2 separate regions of the Homo sapiens genome follow, and region 2 is linked to region 1. The links are contacts of gene promoters, found by promoter capture Hi-C in blood cells and fetal thymus (Javierre and others, 2016). All regions are on one chromosome and are shown on one strand. The core of a region is centred on a gene start or on the middle of the fragment in contact, and the rest is flanking DNA. Distances in the headings are between cores, read along the strand shown.

Region 1 (3,541 bases), core at 626-3,125:
CCCCTTTGCTCTCACTGGAGCCTTAACAGCCCCAGCTGAGCGTGGCATGCTTCTTTACACAGTCTCCAGGGGCTGGGCCCCTGGCTAACAGGGTTTAGGGTCTAATCCTCACAGTGCCCCACTGAAGGAGGTGCTGCTGCCCATTTTACAGGACAGAACACCAAGGCCCAGAATTGAGCTATCATGCCCAGCCACAGCGTATGCTATCACTGTTCTACCCACCCACCGGGCCCTCTTCCTGAAGTCTCAGGGGCAGCGTCTAGGACCAGGAGACCGTGTCCTCTGAGATCTGGGCATGCCTGCCCTGTGGAGGCTCAGGAGGCCTGGAGCGCAGGTTTAGAAGCAGCCAGATCTGAGTCTGAAACCCAGTGCAGCCTCTTGGTCACTGTGTGACCTTCGGTGCATCATTTCTCTGTGCCACAAAATAATCACCCACACTGCAAGAGTGAGCAGGGAACATGAGAGCACACGGAAAATGCCTAGGCTGGTGCCAGGCACAGAGCGGGCACCGAGGCATCACTCCCCTCTCTTTTTGGCCTTTCTAAAATAGGCAGAAGTGGGAGGGGCTTGGAATCTTGGAATTTAGGCGAGGGGTGGGGAGGTTTCTGGAACTGAATCAAGAGAGTTAGGTTGTCAGATGGGAAACAACGGTGGTCAAATTTAGGCTGGGTGGATGGGAAAGCAAGTTAAGGGAACACAAATTCCCCCAAGGCCAGAATCGAAGGTTATAAGACAGCGCGTGCCTAGAGGCTGGGCTCCCTGTGGGCTCGCCCAGGGCAGCAGGCCTGCCCGTTTGGGGCCCTCTCCTCACTGACACAGCAGGACTCCCAAGACAGATGCTGCATGTGACCCAGGCCAGGTGCCCAGAGCTGCTAACAAGGCAGGGCCCCCTGCCTTCCACTCTGTAGAGCTGCAAAGCAGCTGCCTCCCCACTTCCCCAGGGCTGAATTCCTAATAGGTAAGGGAAACTTAACCAGGCACAGGCCAGTGTGCACCTCAGGGGACCCCTGAAAGGATGTTTGTGCATATATATATATATATAGATGTAGATATTTATATTATATATATAATATAAATAGATATTTATATTTATATTTGTATTATATTATAAATATAAAATAAATATATATATTATGTGCATATATATAAATATATAGATATATAGATATATATTTATGCAGTTCGGGGAAAGACTAGTCCAAAGCTTTCATCTGATTTTCAGAAGGCTCCGGGACCCTAATCAGGTTGGGAAGCATGACCGCTTTAAGGCCAGATCCTCACTAAGTAGGAAGAGAAAGAGGGCCAAGGGGATGCCGCTGGGGAATTGTGTTTTTTAATAAGGAACTCTGGAAGACCAGCGTCCTTTTCAGAATCAAAGGAATACACCCTAGAGGGAGCATTCTAGGCCTGGCATGAACAGAAACATCTGGGGGCAGAATCGGCCTGCGGTTTCTCCAGTCACATGGACCCCACCCCTCCTGTCAGGACCCATGTAGTAGGTGCCCTCAAGGAGAATTAATTTATTTTCCAGAGCACCTTGTCCTCACTGGGCGCTCCCCCTGGGGTTAGGGTTGGGGGCACCACCTAGGGAAGCCTGCCTTCCTGCCGGGAGATGAAGGGGCAGGAGTCTAATCAGACCCAGAAGTAGATCTATGGGGATGAAGGAGGGGTGGGTGGGAGTTCTTGATGATAAATTGAGGCCAGACAGCTGTTGACCTGTGCTCTTGGGCCACCCACCCCCAGGCTGGGTATGAACAACGTGGCCCCCACCACCCTGGAGGGAGCCCAGAGCCCAATAGGCAGGCCTTTGGTGTGGCCCTGCAGGCCCACAGCGACACCATGTGGCGGCGAGAAGAAACTGCAGCAGAGTCGGCACAGGACCCCAGCTTCCATCCTCACGTTGTGTGGACATGGTCCAGCTTCCTGCCGCGGACCATGAGCAATCCAAGGGTAGGGGAGCCTCAAGAGGGAGACACTGAGCCTTTACGTAATGAGGCAGGGAGGGGTTCAAGCAATTAATTGAGAAAGGATGTGACAGGACTGGCACCTGGTCACTTTGTGGCCGTGAGCACCAGCTCCGCCTATCCCCTCTGCAGGGCAGAAGGGACAGTGCTGCGGGAGGCGGAGGTGCTGTGGCTCTGGGAAGGCTGAAAAGGGACGGCTGCAAAGGAGAAGAGCTTCGAGTCCTTTCCATCAGGAGAAAAACCCGGTCAGCTGTGGAGGAGCACTGCACAGGAGTCAGAAAGTGGAGTCTGGGCGTGACCTTGCACCTGACCAGCCTGGGGCTCTAGGTCCGCCACATCTGGACTAATCTCCTGTGTCCTGAGCTCCCAGGACCCCAGAGGCAAGCATGGAGGGGCCACGCTGGCAGGTAAAGTTGGTAAGCTTGCGGGGGTGTGTGTGGCAGGGGTAGGGGAGGGAAGGTGGGAAGGAGAAAAAGGAAAAGAAGGGAGAGGAGTAGGGGAGAAGGGACAAAATTTATTTCCAAGCACAGCCTTACAGGGCAGGTCTTATTTATTTTCCCCATTTTACAGTCAAGAAAATTGAGGCTCCCCAGCAGTGAGCAACTTGGATCCCGGGGCTGACTGGCACCCAGCTAAAAGACATTTCCCCAGGTCCCTTGCAGTTAGATGTTGCCATGTGACTGAGTTCTAGCCGAGGGAATGTGGGCAGAGTGGGATCCTTCCCAGGCCCGCCCCTTATGAACCTCTGCTGTGTGGTCCTCCGAGTTCTTTCCTCTCCGCCAGTCAGCCTGGAAACTATGTGATGCCACGGTTGTGAGGTGTGGGGTGCTGGGGTCACCGTGTAGAGGAGAGCTGCCTGCTAATCAGGAATACCTGTTTCCTGTTCTGGACGTTTTTTGTTTGTTTGTTTGTTTGTTTGTTTGTTTGTGACAGAGTCTCACTCTGTCGCCCAGGCTGGGGTGCAGTGGCACGAGCTCAGCTAACTGCAACCTCAGCCTCCCAGGTTCAAGTGATTCTCGTGCCTCGGCCTCCTGAGTAGCTGGGATTACAGGTGTGCACCACCACGCCTAGCTAATTTTTGTACTTTTAGAAGAGATGGGGTTTCACCATGTTGGCCAGGCTGGTCTCGAACTCCCGACCTCAGGAGATCCGCCCACCTCGGCCTCCCAAAGTACTGGGATTACAGGTGTGAGCCACCGCACCCAGCCTGTTTTGGACTTTCTGTGGACAAATTTGCATGAAGGCTTTGAGATGTGGGGCATTGTCTGTTACAGCAGCTAGCATTACCAAGCCAGGAATTGGAGGAGCGGGTTTCAAGCCTGTCTACCTCATTTCCCCCAGTTCCCATAGTGTAGGGTGTTGAGTGAGGCTTCGAGGGAGCAGCATGTTCCCCAAATATGTGTGTGTGTGCACACATGTGCGTATGTACAGCAGAATTATGGTGAGAAGAATCTCCACTCCCTTCCCACAGTCTCTGAACCGTGGTCATCTTTGCCTTGCCTGACTTTGAAAGGCTGGTGGGTTTTAGTGTTAAATCACCTATTCTTGTTCAGGCTTCATCTGGCAGCTTTGCTGTC
Region 2 (3,541 bases), core at 543-3,042, 440 kb before region 1:
ACTTAAATGTTAGACCTAAAACCATAAAACCCTAGAAGAAAACCCAGGCAATACCATTCAGGACATAGGCATGGGCAAGGGCTTCATGACTAAAACACCAAAAGCAATGGCACAAAAGCCAAAATTGACAAATGGGATCTAATTAAACTAAAGCGCCTCGGCACGGCAAAGGAAACTACCATCAGAGTGAACAGGCAACCTACAGAATGGGAGAAAATTTTTGCAATCTACCCATATGACAAAGGGCTAATATCCAGAATCTACAAAGAAATCAAACAAATTTACAAGAAAAAAACAAACAACCCCATCAAAAAGTGGGCGAAGTGTATGAACAGACACTTCTCAAAAAAAGACATCTATGCAGCCAACAGACACATGAAAAAATGCTCATCATTACTGGTTATCAGAGGAATGCAAATCAAAACCACAATAAGACACCATCTCATGCCATTAGAATGGCAATCATTAAAAAGTCAGGAAAAAACAGATGCTGGAGAGGATGTGGAGAAATAGGAACACTTTTACACTGTTGCTGGGAGTTTAAATTAGTTCAACCATTGTGGAAGACAGTGTGGTGATTCCTCAAGGATCTAGAACTAGAATTACCATTTGACCCAGCAACCCCATTACTGGGGTTATACCCAAAGGATTATAAATCATGCTACTATAAAGACACATGCACATGTATGTTTATTGCGGCACTATTCACAATAGCAAAGACTTCGAACCAACACAAATGTACATCAATGATAGACTGGATTAAGAAAATGTGGCACATAAACACCATGGAATACCCTGCCACCATAAAAAATGATGAGTTCATGTCCTTTGCAGGGACATGGATGAAGCTGGAAACCATCATTCTCAGCAAACTATCACAAGGACAGAAAACCGAACACTGCATGTTCTCACTCATAGGTGGGAATTGAACAATGAGATCAGTTGGACACAAGGTGGGGAACGTCACACACTGGGGCCTGTCAGGGGGTGGGGGGTTGGGGGAGGGATAGCATTAGGAGAAATACCTAATGTAAATGATGAGTTGATGGGTGCAGCAAACCAACATGGCACATGTATACCTATGTATCAAACCTGCACGTGGTGCACATGTGCCCTAGAACCTGAAGTATAATAAAAAAAGAAAAGAAAATTAACAGATAAATTATAAGTCACAAAGAATCTCTAAGCAAACATACCTAAGAGAAAAATCAGAATAAGCCAGACAGGGAAGACTAGAATAAATAATCCTTCAATGTAACTCATTATTTCCAAGACAACACAGAAAGGCAATTTGGAAATTTATTAGAGAAATTTAACAAGGAGAATAAAGTACTTAAAAAATCAAATAGAACCCTTGGAACTGATAAAGACTTTTGCTAAACTGAAAAATTCATTAGAGACTCTCAATAGTGGAATAGGTAAAATAGAGGAAATAACCAGTGAACTCAAAGATAGGCTATTTGAAAATACAGTTGGAGTAGAAAAAAGAAAAAAAAGAATAAAAAAATGAAGGTCACCTACAAGATACAGAAAATTACCTCAAAAGAACAAATTTAAGAATTACTGTTGTTCAAGATGGAGTATAGCAAGAGCAAGGGGAAGAAAGCTTATTTAAACCAAAACAGAAACAAAAAAAAAAACCAGAAAACTTCAAAACTTGAGAAAGGGAGAAATATCCAGCTATATGAAAGTCAGAGAAAACCAAACAGATTCAAACCAAATAATACACAAGTCACATAATAATCAAACTCTCAAAGGTCAAGGATGAAGAGAAGATCTTAAAAGTACAAAGAGAAAATAAGTCAATAACGTATGAAGGATCTCCAATTCATTTGGCAACAGATTTCTCAATGGAAATCATACAGGGCAGGAATGGGATGACATTTTCAAAGTGCGAAACTAAAAAACAAAACAATGAAAAACTGCCATCCAAGAATACTGTGTCCAGCAAAGCTATCCTTCAAATATGAAGGAGAGATAAAGCTTTTCCAGATGAAAAGCTGAGAAAATTCACCACCACCAGACCTGTATTAAAAGAATTGCAAAAGGAAGTCTACAATCTGAAAGAAAATCTTGTCAGACACCAGACGTGTCTTACAAGGATTGCAAAAGGAAGTCTAAAATCTGAAGAAAAAAAAAAAAACACTAACATACAAAAATAAAACATGTAAAAGTATAAAACTCACTGGTAAAATTAAGTACACAGACAAACCTAGAATACTCTAATACTGCAATCGTGGTGTGCAATTCACTCACAATTCTACTATGAAGATTTTTTTTAAGTGAAAGCCAGTTTATCAAGAAAGTAAAGGAATGAAAAGGTGTTATCTACTCCACAGGCAGAGCAGCCCTACTATGAAGATTAAAAGACAAAGCTGTCAAAAATAATAATAGATATAGCAACCTGTTAAGAGACAACACAAAGTCAAAATGTAGGCAGGGGTGGAATTAAAGTGTCAAGTTTTAAAATTGTTTCTTTGTTTCTATTCTTTTAATTGTCATCTAAAATAAGTTGTCATCACTTTAAAATAACTTGTTATATCTATAAGATGTGTTGTGTAAGCCTCATGGTAACAATGATGCAAAAACCAATAAGAGATTCACTAGAAACAAAAGCAATGAATTAAAACATCCTACCAGAGAAAATCACTTAATCACAAAAAAAGACAGTAAGAAAGGAAAAAGGAAGAGAGGACTTACAAAACAACCAGAAAGCAAGCAACAACATTAGCGTAGTAAATCCTTACTCATTAAAAAAAAGAATCAATGAAAATTGACACAATTTTTCAATTAAAAGGCATAGAGTGGCTGAGTGGGTAAGGAAACAAGAACCAACTCTGTGCTGCCTACAAGAAACCTACTTCACCTATAAAGACATATATAGGCTGAAGGTGAAGGGGTGAAATAAGATATTCCAGGCAGTTGAAAACCAGAAAAAGAGCAGGAATACCTACGCTTTTTAGATAAAATGGACTACAAATGGGATTACATCAAGTTAAAAACTTCTGCATAGCAAAGGAAGCAATCATCGTAATGAAGACACAACCCACAGAAATAAGAGTAAATATTTGCAAACTAGCTGTGTGACAAGAGATTTTTTTCTCTCCTCCCGTGACAGATTATGACAAGAGGTTAATAACCAGAATACATAAGGAGCTCAAACAACTCAACAGCAAAAATAAGCAAATAATTTGATTTAAAAACAGACAAAAAGATCTGAATAGATATTTACCAAAAAAAGCATACAAATAATAGGTATATGGAAAAAATGTTCAACATTTTTCAACATTATAAGATAAATGTAAATCAAAATCACAATGAAATATCATCTCACCCCAACTTAAATGGCTTTTATCCAAAAGAAAGGGAATAACAGATGTAGGTGCGGATGTGGAAAAAGAACACTTATATATTGTTGATGGGAATATAAATTAGTACAGCAACCATAGAAAACTATTTGGATGTTCCTCAAAAACCTAAAAACGGAACTACCATATGATCTAGAAATTCCACTGCGGGTATATATCCAAAAGAAATGAAA

The links. Contacts are between HindIII fragments. The CHiCAGO score rates a contact against its expected background, and 5 or more counts as called.
Region 2: a fragment that was not itself captured here is called in contact with the fragment with the promoter of SCTR-AS1 in region 1 in 1 of 17 cell types (M2 macrophages); the score reaches 5.1 in M2 macrophages.

The regions. Positions count from the first base shown.
Region 1 is chr2:119,474,579-119,478,119 of GRCh38, forward strand. SCTR-AS1 (SCTR antisense RNA 1) reads left to right here and starts at 1,876. Exons shown (of 2, transcript NR_147847.1): 1 at 1,876-2,380. All of the region lies in intron 3 of SCTR (secretin receptor), which reads right to left. RefSeq lists an enhancer at 193-743. The HindIII fragment of the contact is 1,181 bases long and covers 1,203-2,383 here.
Region 2 is chr2:119,033,266-119,036,806 of GRCh38, forward strand. No RefSeq gene overlaps it. Among named protein-coding and RNA genes, the nearest start is that of MARCO, 93 kb to the left of the region's middle. The HindIII fragment of the contact is 377 bases long and covers 1,605-1,981 here.